3 separate regions of the Homo sapiens genome follow, and all the other regions are linked to region 1. The links are contacts of gene promoters, found by promoter capture Hi-C in blood cells and fetal thymus (Javierre and others, 2016). All regions are on one chromosome and are shown on one strand. The core of a region is centred on a gene start or on the middle of the fragment in contact, and the rest is flanking DNA. Distances in the headings are between cores, read along the strand shown. Region 1 holds the start of CEP120 (centrosomal protein 120). Region 2 holds the start of NUDCD2 (NudC domain containing 2). Region 3 holds the start of FAM114A2 (family with sequence similarity 114 member A2).

Evidence for each region. The method cuts DNA at HindIII sites, captures the fragments that hold promoters and counts their contacts. A CHiCAGO score of 5 or more calls a contact.
Region 2: a contact is called between the fragment with the promoter of NUDCD2 here and the fragment with the promoter of CEP120 in region 1, in 1 of 17 cell types (fetal thymus). The highest score is 5.5, in fetal thymus.
Region 3: the fragment with the promoter of FAM114A2 here is called in contact with the fragment with the promoter of CEP120 in region 1 in 1 of 17 cell types (total CD4 T cells); the score reaches 9.8 in total CD4 T cells.

Annotation. Positions count from the first base shown.
Region 1 is chr5:123,420,993-123,425,739 of GRCh38, forward strand. CEP120 (centrosomal protein 120) reads right to left here and starts at 2,411. Exons shown (of 20, transcript NM_001375405.1): 1 at 1,958-2,411. The coding sequence starts at 2,006. RefSeq lists an enhancer at 1,677-2,622 and a silencer at 1,952-2,111. The HindIII fragment of the contact is 3,797 bases long and covers 1,904-4,747 here.
Region 2 is chr5:163,458,001-163,462,747 of GRCh38, forward strand. It overlaps NUDCD2 (NudC domain containing 2), which reads right to left and starts at 2,102. Exons shown (of 4, transcript NM_145266.6): 1 at 1,862-2,102. The coding sequence starts at 2,050. HMMR (hyaluronan mediated motility receptor) reads left to right here and starts at 2,632. Exons shown (of 18, transcript NM_001142556.2): 1 at 2,632-2,738. The coding sequence starts at 2,693. RefSeq lists enhancers at 1,819-2,068, 2,819-2,878 and a silencer at 2,399-2,488. The HindIII fragment of the contact is 3,644 bases long and covers 1,373-4,747 here.
Region 3 is chr5:154,036,387-154,041,133 of GRCh38, forward strand. It overlaps FAM114A2 (family with sequence similarity 114 member A2), which reads right to left and starts at 2,524. Exons shown (of 14, transcript NM_018691.4): 1 at 2,471-2,524. It overlaps MFAP3 (microfibril associated protein 3), which reads left to right and starts at 2,581. Exons shown (of 3, transcript NM_005927.5): 1 at 2,581-2,625. The HindIII fragment of the contact is 2,878 bases long and covers 704-3,581 here.

The sequences.
Region 1 (4,747 bases), core at 1,161-3,660:
GAGGACCACATGCTAGTTTTGGGTATGTTTGTGGAAACAACCTAACAGACATCCTTGACTCCAGGTTCTCTTCCTTGCACACTGCTACTAAACTGAACTCAAGAAAAGCATTCTATTTAGGAATATATGCTGCCAACCTATTTCTTGGAACATTAATTCTAAACTGGCTTTCAAGATCCTCTGAGGCCTATTCGCTCCAGTTGTACAAGCTCATTTCTTACCATGACATTTCTAAATATTCACCTTCCTCTACCCTGGTCATCTTGCTGATCTTTTCAATGTTCCACCCACCATGCTCACCCCGGCACAAGCTACTTGGTTGGGAATCAAGCTGGTCAGAAAGACCTTGACTGCTAACCTTTTGAGTTTAAGCCTGAGGCTCTCACTTGAAACTCTGTATTAGGAATATTAACACACATCGCACAGCTCTCCCAATTAGCACTAACAGGCCTCTCTCAGGACCTCATTTTCTGCTGCTCTAAAACTAGCTTCCCCAAATGAATTGCATTTATGTCCTGGGTTGTCAGACTGGCCTGGGTTGTCCATAGAATTCTATTGTCACATATCTAAAGCTCACTTATTATTTAAAGAACTTCAGCCATCCCACCCACCCTACCCTCAAACCTATATTTACAGTACATATCACATATTTTAAATATTATACCCCAACATATTGTGTCCTGTGATCTCCCCACGTGGACAGACCTCTACATCCTTGGAGGGAATGGAGGTATTTGTTTCCTCATAGCATGGTCAGTTATAAGTCTAAAAACTGTTGTTAACCAAATTTTAAGGTTATTTCAGTCCTATGTTTTTAAACAATAAGTAAACTAACAGTTAATAGTGCTCCAAATCTTTATGGCTTTTCTGGTCAGTCTCTTGTTCCAAAATTCAAAGATTAGGATTACAATGTTTCCTTTGCTCTCATCCCTCACACAGTGCCAGGCCTTTATAAAACACTCTCCCATGGGGGAAAAAATGCAGCCAGGCTTCTGCTCTGGCTCAAGATGACTCCTTCTTAACATACTATTCGTAAAGTGTCCTCAATTCACCTGTTATCTCCTATGCCCTCCACTTTCTTGCAAATCTGTTCTCCAACCACACTGAATTTAACCAATGTTTACTGAGTGAATTTAATTAAGCAAGGCAAAACGTGTCTTGCTTTTCCATACTTTAAGTGCTCCCTGCTCTTCTCTTTGCCTGGAATGCCCTTCCTTTTTTCACCTGACAAATTCCTAATCATCTGTAGGACCCCAAAAAATGCCACCTCCTCTAGTGAAACTTCCGCAGTTTCCTTAGACAGAGGTGGTCATTCATTAGGGTCTTCCACATCCTGATGAATTATTTGCTGACACACTCTCCTTGCTACATCCTTAGCTTTTTAGAATCAGGACTGTTTCATTCTTACATTCCCAGCACAGTGTCTGACACTCAATGAGTCCCAATAAACCAATGTCATTCATCCAAAACACACCTTTTAAGGAATGTATAATACACCCTCTTAAGAACTGTAGTCCCCTGAGTCCTCCAGCAAGACGTGTAAAGGGAATTGCCTCCGGAACACTTCTGGAATCGCAGGAAGCCTGTATTCAAGTCAAAGCTCTTACAAGTGCTATTATTGGGAACCGCTGATCAGAACGCGCTTCTCAGGACCACGTTCAGCTCATATATAAAAGCCATCGACGTGCTGCTTTGGATGAAAATCGTTTTCTCTAGATTCTCTGGGGCTACGGCTAGTCACGCTAAATATCACTTATCCCTAATAGCGCTCATATCCCTGGAGAGATTTTTAAATCAATTGCCTAACAGACCTCACTACGTACAACTTTGAACAAGTCTGTGGGGACCACAAAAGCACAGATGACAGGGTTCTTAAGGTTAACAAGGCCTCGGTCCCACACTAAGCTTTTAAAACTCGGGAGGCAGCAGTTGCAAAAGCAAGCCTCAGGCTGCTCACCTTCTAGGATGGACACGACGATGAGCAATTGGTCGGATTTGGAGACCATGGTTGCGGTGAGCGGTCCGGGGGCGAAGGCGGCTGGGGGGAAGTGAGGTCCAGTTGAGTCGCGGGTAATCCGGGACCCCCGGCGGGACCCCCACTGCCCGCCCCCGGTCCCTGATGCCCGGACCCCGCTCCGCAGCCAGGTCCCACCGCCGTCTGCTGCAGCGCGCCCGGCTCCTCTGCCTCGGGCCGCCAGCCCAGATCCTAACTGTGCCCCGACTCAAGGAAAAAGCCACGCTGCAGCCCTGCCAGTCTGCAAGCAGAGACAAGCCCGCCACCCGAGGACCTTTTGCCGCCTGCGTAGCCGCTTTTCAAACGCCCGGGCGGCCGCAGCGGCCGCCGCCGCGCCCAGCTTCCGCCTAGCAACCAGGCCCGCAGGCCCAGTGCCCAGGGGAGGTTGGAGGACAACGGGTGATAGAGACAGAGCAGTCAAGGCTAGAACGCCCGTCAGCGAGCTTCGCCTCCCGCCCTTTTACGCTCTGTTCCAGAGCCCTAAGGAGGACGCCTTCATTACCTCACAGCGCCCTCTGCTAGCCGGACGAGGAGAGGCGGGCGACTTGGTGTGGGACCAGCTGCGCAAGCGCACTACTGCTGTAAACGCTTCCTGAAGCTGCGTAGCCTTTAAGGAGCGTGAGTGTAGCGTATTACCTGCTTTATGCTTCAGCCACAACCTGAGAGTTATATTAGTGGGGATTAAAAAAACAAAAAAACCTAGCTTAGTTGACGTACCCAGTGTCAACACTGCTTAAAAAATTAAATCACAAAAAAATAATGACTTAAATCTAAACTCTAAAGTCCCTAAATCGTGCTCACGCGGCACCTCAAATTTCCGACCTTTGAAAACAAGTAGCTTCAATACGGTAATTACTGTACTTGTTAAAGCTGACGTAAACTCCCCGAGAATTTCCTGTCCCTTAGAAATTACCCCTAAAACAAAAACACTGTCACGTGGGCAATGAAATATAAAGGTTCTTCCACCCCCGATGACAAAGTTATTAGCAAACTCAAAACCAAAAATAAACAAGGCATTGAGGTGCTGTCTGCCGACCCTTTCCCCTTAACGTCTCCCAAATTCAGATTTAAGAAACGGTTCAAGACTTGTAAAGGGAACGGCCTCCTAAACACTACTCAAATTGCAAGAAGCATGTATTCAAGTCAAAGGCAAAGTTCTTTTGGAGGTTATCTAGCTTGAAACTTAAATAACCGAATTGGTTGGAGCGATCGTGGACACTATTAAGTTTGGGAAAAATTCTGCTTCGGAAAACAAAAGTAAATCATAATAAAATAAAGCTGCAGAGATAGCACTAGGTAGTGGACATAAGTGCGGCTTCTCCTATTACTTTCTGGTTTTGTAAATTGAGAAGTTGTTTTGAGAGCAAATATAATATCTCGCTGTTTTCTTTTTCTTCTATTGCTTCCTTGTTTTGGAAATTTAGAAGTTATTTTGAGAGCAAATAATATAATATCACTATTGTTTTCTTCTTCCTCTTCTTTATTCTTCCTTCTTTGCTTTCTGCCCAAAAGAAAAGGAGGAATATGTAGAGATTGGACTAATTACTTCTAAGGCCCTTTCAGGTCCTATCACAGGCATTCTTAAAATGAAGCACTATTCAATGTAAAATCAAAGTAATGATCTACTTTGGATTCATCATTGAACAATGCATTATTTTTGTGGAAGATGTCAAACATACTTTAAAGAAAGCAGAATGATATAATGAACCCCCAGTTACCCAGACCCCAGCTTCAACGATTATCAACTTAAGACCAATCATCTTCATCTGTTGTGTTATTTTTAAAGAAATCCCCAACATCACATCAATTCATCTTTTTGGATACGTACTTCTAAAAGATGAAGACTTTTTGGCCAGGTGTGGTAGTGGCTCACATCTGTAATCCCAGCACTTTGGGAGGCTGAGGTGGGCGGATCACTTGAGTCAGGAGTTCGAGACCAACCTGGCCAACATAGCAGAACTCCGTCTCTACTAAAAATACAAAAATTAGCCAGACGTGGTAGCGCAAGCCAGAAATCCCAGCTACTTGGGAGGCTGAAGCACGAGAAGGCTGAGGCACGAGAATCGCTTGAAATCATGAGGCAGAGGTTGCAGTGAGCCGGTATCATGCCACAGCGCTCCAGCCTGGGCCACAGAGAAAGACTCAGTCTCAAAAAAAAAAAAAAAAAAAAAGATAACGACTTCTTAAAGAATCTTAAAATATTAAGTATTTAACCACAATCCCATTATTACACTTAATAATTAACAAAAATTTCTTAATCCCATTAAATATATACTGTTCAAATTTCTCTGATTGTCTAATAATTTGTTTGCAGTCGGTTTTTTCAAATCAGGATCCAAACAAGTTCCAAAATACAATGGTTGGTATGTCTCTTGTCTTTTTTAATGTATATGGTTAGGCTTTGTGCCCCCACCAAAATCTCATTTTGAATTGTAATCCCCACAACCCCCAAGTGTCAAGGAAGGGACCAGATGGAGGTAATTGAATCATGGGGGTGGTTTCCTCCATGCTATTCTCCTGATAGTCAGTGAGTTCTCAGGAGATCTGACGGTTTTATTAAGCGCTCTTCCCCCTTTACTCACTCACTCTTCTCCTTCTTGCTGCCTTGTGAGGAAGGTGCCTTGCTTCCCCTTTGCCTTCTGCCATGACCATAAGTTTCCTGAGGCCTCCCTAGCCATGCTGAACTATGAGTCAATTAAACCTCTTTCCTTTTGAAATTACCCAGTCTTGGGC
Region 2 (4,747 bases), core at 852-3,351, about 40 Mb after region 1:
TTTTTTGAGACAGAGTTTCGCTCTGTCGCCCAGGCTGCAGTGGCACGATCTGGCTCACTGCAACCTCCACCTCCAGGGTTCAAGCGATTCTCCTGCCTCAACCTCCCAAGTAGCTAGGACTACAGGCGCCCGCCACCACGCCCGGCTAATTTTTGTATTTTTAGTAGAGATGGGGTTTCCCCGTGTTAGCCAGGCTGGTCTCGAACTCCTGACCTTGTGATCCGCCCGCCTAGGCCTTCCAAAGTGCCAGGATTACAGGCATGAGCTACCGCACCCGGCAAAATGTTGTTTTTAAAGTAAACTTTTAAAAACGTTTTAATCTTTTTGTTGGGCAATCGGCATTAAAAAAACTTTACGTATTCCAGATTTGATAGATTAGTTGTGACTAACTGTTCACAAACTCATGTTTTTTAAAAAAATAAACAAAATATAAATTTAAAAGAGACTGCACCAGGCCCAGTAGCTCAGGCCTGTAATCCCAGGACTTTGGAGGCCAACGTGGATTGCTTGACCCCATGGGTTTGAGGCTGCTGTGAGCTACAATCTCACCCCTGCACCCCAGCATGGGAGACAGGGACCCTGTCTCAATAAATATATATTTTTTTTTAAAGAGAGAATGCCTAAACTCAAATCCATTTTAATTTGTTGCCAAATTTAAGTTATAGAAAGTGAAATTAAATGTCACTAGGAAAAGCCCACATTTTAAAATATGTCAAAATTAGTGAGAAAAAAATCCCACTGGTCTATACGTACATCAGAAATCCCAAATTCAGCAGCTACTGCTAAATTCCGAAAGTTACTGGATTTACTAATTTATAATCGTAATCTAAAACCATTGTTGAGGAAACTATGAATTGTACAATTCAGAAAAGTAACTGAGATCCAAGCTGACATAATGTCTTTCACACGAATCTTGAGGCACTCAAAGCACCTCCATATACTGTAATATATATAATAGCTAATAGCTAACATATAGTATGAACTTATTACATACCAGTGAATACTCCAAGCTCTTCATACACGTGAATACCATGTTAAGCTCAAAACAATCCCATGAGAAGGGTACTATAACTACCTTATCTTGTGGATAAGGAAGATATAGAGACACTGAACAATCTCTCGCCCAAGTTTACAAAACTAGGAAACAAGTAGTCTCCCTTCACCATATTACACTGCCATCAAACATCTTGGGCATCTAACCTGAGAACTAAATCTAATTTCAACCTGTTAGTTTAATTATACACTTAACAAAGAAAAAGCGGGTCCAGATCCAAAGAGCATTGGTGAAAAGAAATAAAAGGAGTACTACTTATTTTATGCACACACCTCTTCACCACCTGCTTGACCACTCCACAAACATGCAGGATTTTCAAGCTTTTAGATGAGAAAACTAATCACCTGACATCATCTCTAAATTCTCTGCCCGTTATTCTATCCCTATTTTCTTTGTTGTCCTTTCCTATATTTATCTATTTATGAATTACGCTTCCGTACAGGAGCTTAACCTCTCCACTGCAGGTACGTTATCTGTTGTCTTCCTGCCTGTCTTCAGTGCACGGAAGAAATATTTGTTCCTTTAGCAACCTAGTTAATCTGTTCCCAGCTGAAGCCCGTCAGAGAAGCAGAAGCAGCAGTCTTAGTTTGAAAACTAAACACGAAAATAGGCTCCTCAAATTTCCACAACTCAGCACCTGCCCTGAAGAGGCGGGGGCTCTGACCAGACCCAAACCTGGTCAGTGTTATCCTCTTTCTCTTTCTGCCAGCCACAGGAGCCGTCGGGACACCCAACAGTCGTTCAGGGAAACGGGGCTGGGGGCGTCTGGGAAGAGGAAACTGAACACAAGCCCCGAGCTGCCGCTACCTTGAGGATCTCGCGGCCGCCCACCGACAGCGCCACATGCCGGCTCTGGAGGCCGCACTGGATATCCTGGGCGCGCGTGCCTGGCGGCACCTGAACTTCAATGAACACCTCCTCCAAGGTCTGGTACCACTGGCCCCACGGGGTCCCGCACGGTACCACCCCACTCCGCTCCTCAAACGGGGCCGACATAATCCAGTCCCTCCCGGCCGCGGCCGCACCAGGCGGAGCCGAGCGCACGCGCGGAATCCCACGCTTAGGCTACGCCTCGGCCTCTCCGCTCGGGTCACTGCGCATGCGCAGGAACGCAAGCTAGCGCTTTGGTGTGCGTGTTCGTTTTTCCCTTTGAATGGCCGTTTACGGCACCGGCAGGCCCCGGATGAAAGAACTGAAATCCAGAAAAGTTCACATGCAACGAACAATGGGACAGAATTGGAACCAGTGAAGCCGGAACTCACTACACCGTCCCCTAAGTGACGCCAAAATGCACTTTCTAACGTCTCCGGAGGGAAGTGCGCTTGCGCAAATGCTAGGTTACACTTGAGTAACTCCGGGAATGACTGGGTGGGTGGGGCGGGGAACAGTAACGGTCTCCTATTGGATGGCAGCCTAAACTCGCAGGCCAGCTAATTGGACGCAATCAGAACCCAGCATTCTTTCTTCGTGTTCCTGTGCGGGATTGGTGTGCCCAGGGGTTTGGCTTTCCAATTGGCTAACGCCGGGGTGGGTGGGGAATGTGGGGAGATTTGAATTTGAAACCGGTAGGGAGTGATAATCCGCATTCAGTTGTCGAGGAGTGCCAGTCACCTTCAGTTTCTGGAGCTGGCCGTCAACATGTCCTTTCCTAAGGCGCCCTTGAAACGATTCAATGACCCTTCTGGTGCGTAAGGGGGAAAGAGCTGGGGGACGGGAGACGCCCTAACGCCCTTTGCCTCTTTCAGCTCCCTTCTTGGGAGGCAAGCAGGAGGCGATTTTAGGGTCGGGCTGGGGCTCATTCAGTTGATTGATTTTTCTCAAATATGCTCTAAGCATCTGTTACATGCCAAGCACTAATCAGGATGCTAAGGATACCGCAGTGAAACAGTCTCCGCCCCGTGGGGCTTACATTCAGGCGGGGAATACTGTCAATAAACAGCGGTAATGGAGAAACTACAGCAGGGCGAAGGGAATGGACCCGAGACGTTGGTAGCTACTTGATTTTCAAGTCCGAGAGGGCCTCACTGATAAGAACACTGGAGTATTACTTGTAGTCTGAACTTGTGCATTTCTTTTGTGTATTCCATTTGGGCATAAAAGAAGGAAGATTAGTAAAGGCAGTTTATGGGTGTAAAATTAGAGCAGCAGCACTTATTGAAAACATAAACAATGAAGTTATGGCTGATATTGACCACTTATACCTCAAGCACCGTACTAAGGCTTTACATCGATTATTAGTTATGTTAATTTCCCACCAACTCTAAGGGGTAATCCTATTATTATTTTATTGATAAAAAGACTGAGACTTAAATTTGCTCAGTGCTACATTACCAAAGTGACCGGACTGGAATATGAACCCAGCCCCCATCGTGTGCTCTTAACACCGCAATGCACAGCACAGTAACCAGGAAGCCTTAGCTGTGTTTGGTAGGCACTCATCATTTAAGATGCTGTATGCGGCCGGGCGCGGCGGCTCACGCCTGTAATCCCAGCACTTTGGGAGGCCGAGGCAGGTGGATCACGAGGTCAGGAGATCGAGACCACCGTGAAACCCCGTCTGTACTAAAAATACAAAAAAAATTAGCCAGGCGCGGTGGCGGGCGCCTGTAGTCCCAGCTGACTACAGGCTGAGGCAGGAGAATGGCGTGAACCCGGGAGGCGGAGCTTGCGATGAGCCGAGATCGCGCCACTGCACTCCAGCCTGGGCGACAGAGCAAGACTCTGTCTTACAGAAAAAAAAAAAATGCTGTATGCTGGGACTGTGCTACTAGATCTTGTTTATTCCTTCCAAAAGCCAAGTGAGGAAGGTACTGATATTGACCTCATTTTACAGATGAGAAAACAGAGGTTTTGTATCTTGCACAATCAGTAAGTGGTAGAGCTAAATATTAAAGCTCATGATTTATTCACTATCATACACTATTTCGTGGTTACTCATTACGTCTCTAAGTTTTGTCAGCCAACGTGTGAATGAAAATACAACTACTCACAAAGGAAGGCCAAATGAGCAAGTGAATCAGCACAAACTTATTTTCTTAGTTAAAAGACTCAAGGACCATATGATTTCCCGAGTAATCAAAGGACCTACTCTTAAGTTTTGTCAGCAGTGTGGCTTTAAGGTTTTTTTGGTTTTTTTGTTGTTTGCATTATAGTAGGTTAAACTGGCTTTATCAAAGATATAGTATTTCAGGCTCACAGTTACAGAAATAATACTAATTATTAATTTGATGCTTAATGTGTATGAGGCACTGTGGTGATTTTTCATATTCCAGTACTCCAGCCTGGGTGACAGTGCGAGACTCTGTTTCAAAAAAAAAAAAGCAAAAAAACCCCCAAAATTTATATTTCAACCTAAGATGTATTTTTATATCTCTACACATACATACGAAAGAAAAGTTTCACAAAACAATGCCTAACTTTGCAGCATATGAGTCATGCTTTTTCTATTGTTTTTACTTTTTAAAAAATGCTAATCAAGATCTACTCATGGGGCTGGGCCTGGTGGTTCACACGTGTAATCCTAGCACTTTGGGAGGCCGAGGCAGAGAGATCAGCTGAGGTCAGGAGTTCAAGACCAGCCTGGCCAACATGGTGAAACCCTGTCTCTAGTAAAAATACAAAAAACTAGCTGGGCGTGGTGGTGGGAGCCTGTAATCCCAGCTACTCGGGAGGCTGAGGCAGGAGAATCGCTTG
Region 3 (4,747 bases), core at 1,274-3,773, about 31 Mb after region 1:
TACAAAGAACAGACACTAGTTTCCAGGATAACCAAGGATTATCAGAGTAGAAATCAATACATCTCACACATATGTACACACACGCTGTAGGTATGTACTGATATGTACTAAGTGCAGAATTAGACCCAACCCATGCTATCAAAATGTTTCTAATGTATTAGAAAAGAAAGGCATATTAAAACTAAGGCAGACTGGATGCAGCACTATAACAGGTGCTGCATTCAGTCCAACACACAAAATGCTGAAACATCCCTGCCAGACCATCCAACACACAAAATGCTGAAAAAAAACAGAACTCCATTAGAATCAGACAACGTAATTCATGAACAAAGTACCTGAAATAAGCCTAGAGTAGTGGTCACAAACTGGGAATTTAAGTGCCAAATCCAGCCTACAGATGTTTTTATTTGGCCTGCACAGTATTTAACCTTTGCAAAAACTAGATGCCAACATTTAAAAATCAGACTTCATATAAAAATATAGGCTTCCAACTTCTAACTTGTAAAATTAAAAGATCTAGCAACACCGGGCCCACATTCAACTCTGTAATAACTAGCTTGTGCTAAATAGCCGCTGGGCCCTTTTAGCTAGGGCAGTTGCTCTCCAGCTCCCTACAATCCCCCACGCAAATCCACTTCACTCAAATTATGCTACCTGATTAACCTCTGTAGGCATCTGAGTTGGCAACACCTGCCTTAAAAGAAGCTTATGATTTTGACAGATGATGATGCCAATGACAGGATTCAAGGATATGGAAATAACATGAGGGTACAGCCAAAGGCCTGAGGTCTGACAGTATGGAACATGGACAGTTACAGTAGGGAGTAGTTACCATGGCAGAGAGAAGAACAATGGGAAGGCATGAAGCTAGAAAGGTAGATTAAGACAACACTATGGAGTTCAGAATATATGGGCATATAATATAAACACATTACACATTTCCAAAACACATAGAGAAAAAATCCAGATACAACTACTCACTGACATACAAACCAACTTAGAAGTAGCCATTCATTCACTCGCAAACATTTTTTGAGTACCTACTACGTACCAAGTAGTACCACAGTACCTGTGGAGATAGAGAACTAATGTAAGCCATTCACTCCAAGGGCCTATCTAATAGGAAAGACGAGACAGTTTTTGCACAAAGTTCAATTAATGTTTTGTGTATATGAATAAATGTTTCCTATCTTTTCCTTATGCTCTCTCCAGGTTGCAACGCATCATTATCATCATCATAAATATATACAGTATACTATATGTAGAATATATAATATACATATTACATAAATTCATATAATTCCATGAAAGACTGGAAGGACATACTCCAAAATATATTTTTAAAGACAGGGTCTCGCTATGTTGGCCAGGTTGGTCTTGAACCCTAGGCCTGGCCTCAAGCAATCTTCCCCTGCCTCAGCCTCCCAAAGTGCTAAAATTACAGGCGTGAGCCACCATGCCCTGCCAAAACAGTCCCTTTACTAAAATATTAAACACTGGTTATCTCTATTCTTTCATTTGTGCCAGATATTTGAGCTAAGCCAGAAGAGAATTTTTTATGGTGATGGTTGTTTATATTATCATTACTATCGTTATTAGAATGACTGTACCATCTCTTTCCTCAACTCATTCATAATCTAGGAGAAAGGTTAAAAAAAAAAAAGGAATAAACACCAAGTACGTGGAACTGCACTATTTAGTGTTTTTGTAAGTCTTCCAGGCATTGTGTAGTAAGCGTGTAGAAATAATTGTAGTTTCTCCTCCAGTTATTTTCTCAGTTGGAGGAGAAAGATTCCAATAACTGTAAATAAATACGGCTGAGCCATATTTTTAAGAAATAAAAACGCATACGCTTACACACACACATATATATTACGTATATATACACTCCACCCGCCCCATTTACCAAAATGAAGAGCAGTACAGCTTAGTAGCTAAGAGCACGGGCTCTGGAGTTTACTTTCTTCCTGTCCTGCAGCGATTGTGGGGAAGTCAGGTCACCTGTCTGCCTCTCCGTTTCCTCATCTGTCAAATGGAGTTCTGGGTCCCTATAAAGATTCAGTGACGCGATATGTGAGGGGCTTGGAACAGTGACCGGCACGTAACCGCCCACAGGTTAACAGCTGCTATCACTTGGTGGGGTGATGGTTTGTATCCTATCGTTATTAATACGGCTGTCTCTAGATGAGCAAACATGCGCTCTCACTTCTTCCCACATTCAAGAATGGGGTCCCAAACGAGAGATTCGACGTAAACGTCCGCTCCCAACTAAGTTCTCAGGCGCTGACAACGACAAGAATTCCTCACACAAACGTAGCGCTTCAATCACTAAACCGCTTTCACAGCCCTCGACCCTGCCGCGAGATGTCCGCCGCCCACCGTCAGGTCACCGCCTCCCTAACGACTTCGGCTGCCCGGGCCCTGCCCCTGAACCTCGCACCCCTCCTGCCTCGTTCAGGAAGCTCCGCACCTATCCGGCCGCCACCCTCAGCACAGCCACGGCAGCCGACTCGGCGTTCCTACTGCCCCGGAAGTGCTCCTTCAGCGCAGAGGCGTGCCGGTGTGTCCGAGAAAACTTCCGAGTTAAGCCGCCGCTGAGGCCGGAAGGAGCTAGACGGCGGTCGGGTAGGTGACGGCTTGGTTGGGGTCGCTGCGAGGGGACTACTAGGAGCGCCGAGGCGTGAGTCGTAGCCTGTGGCTTGGGGTCGGGAGTGCAGGAGGCGAAAATGTTTGCCATTCTTTTGAAAGTCTGGCCTGGGTGTGGGAGTTCGGTCATCGAACACTTACTGAGAGCCAGATACCTGCCAGGCACTGCCCTGGGCTCCAGGGACACATCAGTCAACGAACGGAAGGGCCCTGCTCTCAAGCAGTGCGAAAAGCAGATTATAAACAAGTCAACAAACGGGATTATCTAAGGTGGTAGTAAGTGCTGTAAAGAAATTTAGACTGGATAATGTGATGGAACGAAGTGGGAGAGTAATAAGCCGTATGAAAATCTGGAATAGAGCATTCCAGGCAGAGAGAATAGCGCGTGCAAAGGCCATATAGTGGGAACAAACTTAGCAAAGTCAAGGAAAAGACAAAGGCCACTGGCTAGAGCAAAAGGAGCAAGGTGAGAATGGAGAGAGATGAGGCCAGGGACTTGAGCCCAAATCTTGTAAGGCTTATGAGCAAGGATAAAGAGTTTGATTTTTGTTTGGAATCCAGTGGAAAACCATTGAAGGTTTCTAAGCAGATGAATGACATGATCTGATTTATGACTCTAAGATTACTCCTGGGACCTCATCAGAAAGATGCAACTCTTCTGTTGCCCTCGAGCAGTGAAAATGCATGAAATCCAGACTGACAGAGCTAGTAAAATATTAAAATCAATCTTATTGTACAGATAAGAAAAACTGAATCCCAGAGAGGTGAAGGGACTTAGCCTTTAAGAACTCATGTTTTCCAACTCCATTTAATGCCCTCGGAATTATCATCTTAATTCCCAGATAAGAGTAATTGTCACTTCTAAAACTCTTCAGATATTTTCCTTTGCTTTTGACAGTGGTTCTCTAAATTTAGGTTCATCAATATCACCTGGAAGCTTGTTAAAATTCCAAAAAACAACAACAAAAAAACCCCTGCTTAAATATAAAATGGATCATTTCCTCTGATTTTCTGTTGTAATGGAAAATGCATAGAATTTGGGGCTAAAGTATGGAATCTTGGGAAGCCACTTATTTTTTAAATGCTGCTGATAATTATAGCAGCAGTTCTCAAACTTTTTGATCTTAGAATTTCTTTATACTTTTAAAATGTATTGAGAACTTCAAAGGGTTTTTGTTTATAATAGCTATCAATATTTACTATTTTAGAAAACAACTTTCAACAAAGGTTATTCATTTTAAAATAAACTCATTATATGTTAACATAGATAGCATTTCTGTAAAGGATATTTTCCAAAATGAAAAATTATTGAGAATGGCATTGTTTTACATTGTTACAAATCTCTTTAATGTCTGGCTGAATAAAAGACAGCTAGATTTTCGTAACTTCTACCTTCATTCTCTTACAATATCAATCATCATGTAACTTTTAGAAAATTGTGCCATATTGTGTGAGAATGTGAGTGAAAAAGGGATATGTCCTAATATTATGTAAATTGTTTTGAAACAGTGTCAGGGACACCCAGGAGTTCCTGCACCACACTTTTGAGAATTACACTGAATTACGGTGATTGTCATGCCAGTAAAAGAAATATGAGTTTGATTTGTAAATCAATAAACCTATATGCACATTAAAAATGCAGATGCCCAGGCATCCCCTAGAGATCCCAATTCAATAAGTCTGTGGGGTCAAGAAATCTGCATCTTTAACAAGCACCACAAATTAATTTGATATAAATGGTCTGAAAATTACAGAGTGAGAAAACCAGTCAAATGATTCTCTAGAGTGTTCTGCCTACTAAAACTCAAGATAGGTGTCTTTCTTATCTTCACCTCTCTCCATCAATAGTTTCCAGAGCCTGAAGCTCTGGAAAGTTAATAAGTTTGTAGCAGACACCTTTCACACTACCAAGTCGATGAGTGTCTGAACTCAAAATTTTGAGCACTTGCCACAGGCAGTGGCCCTGTGCTAAGGACAGAAGGTTTTTAGACTCTATCATTCATAAGCTTACAGTCTTTTGAACGGATAACTAACTGCTAAGAGGAAAACTGATAAGTCTTATAATGGCGTACTCTTAATGTGCTAGGGGACTGACAGAGCA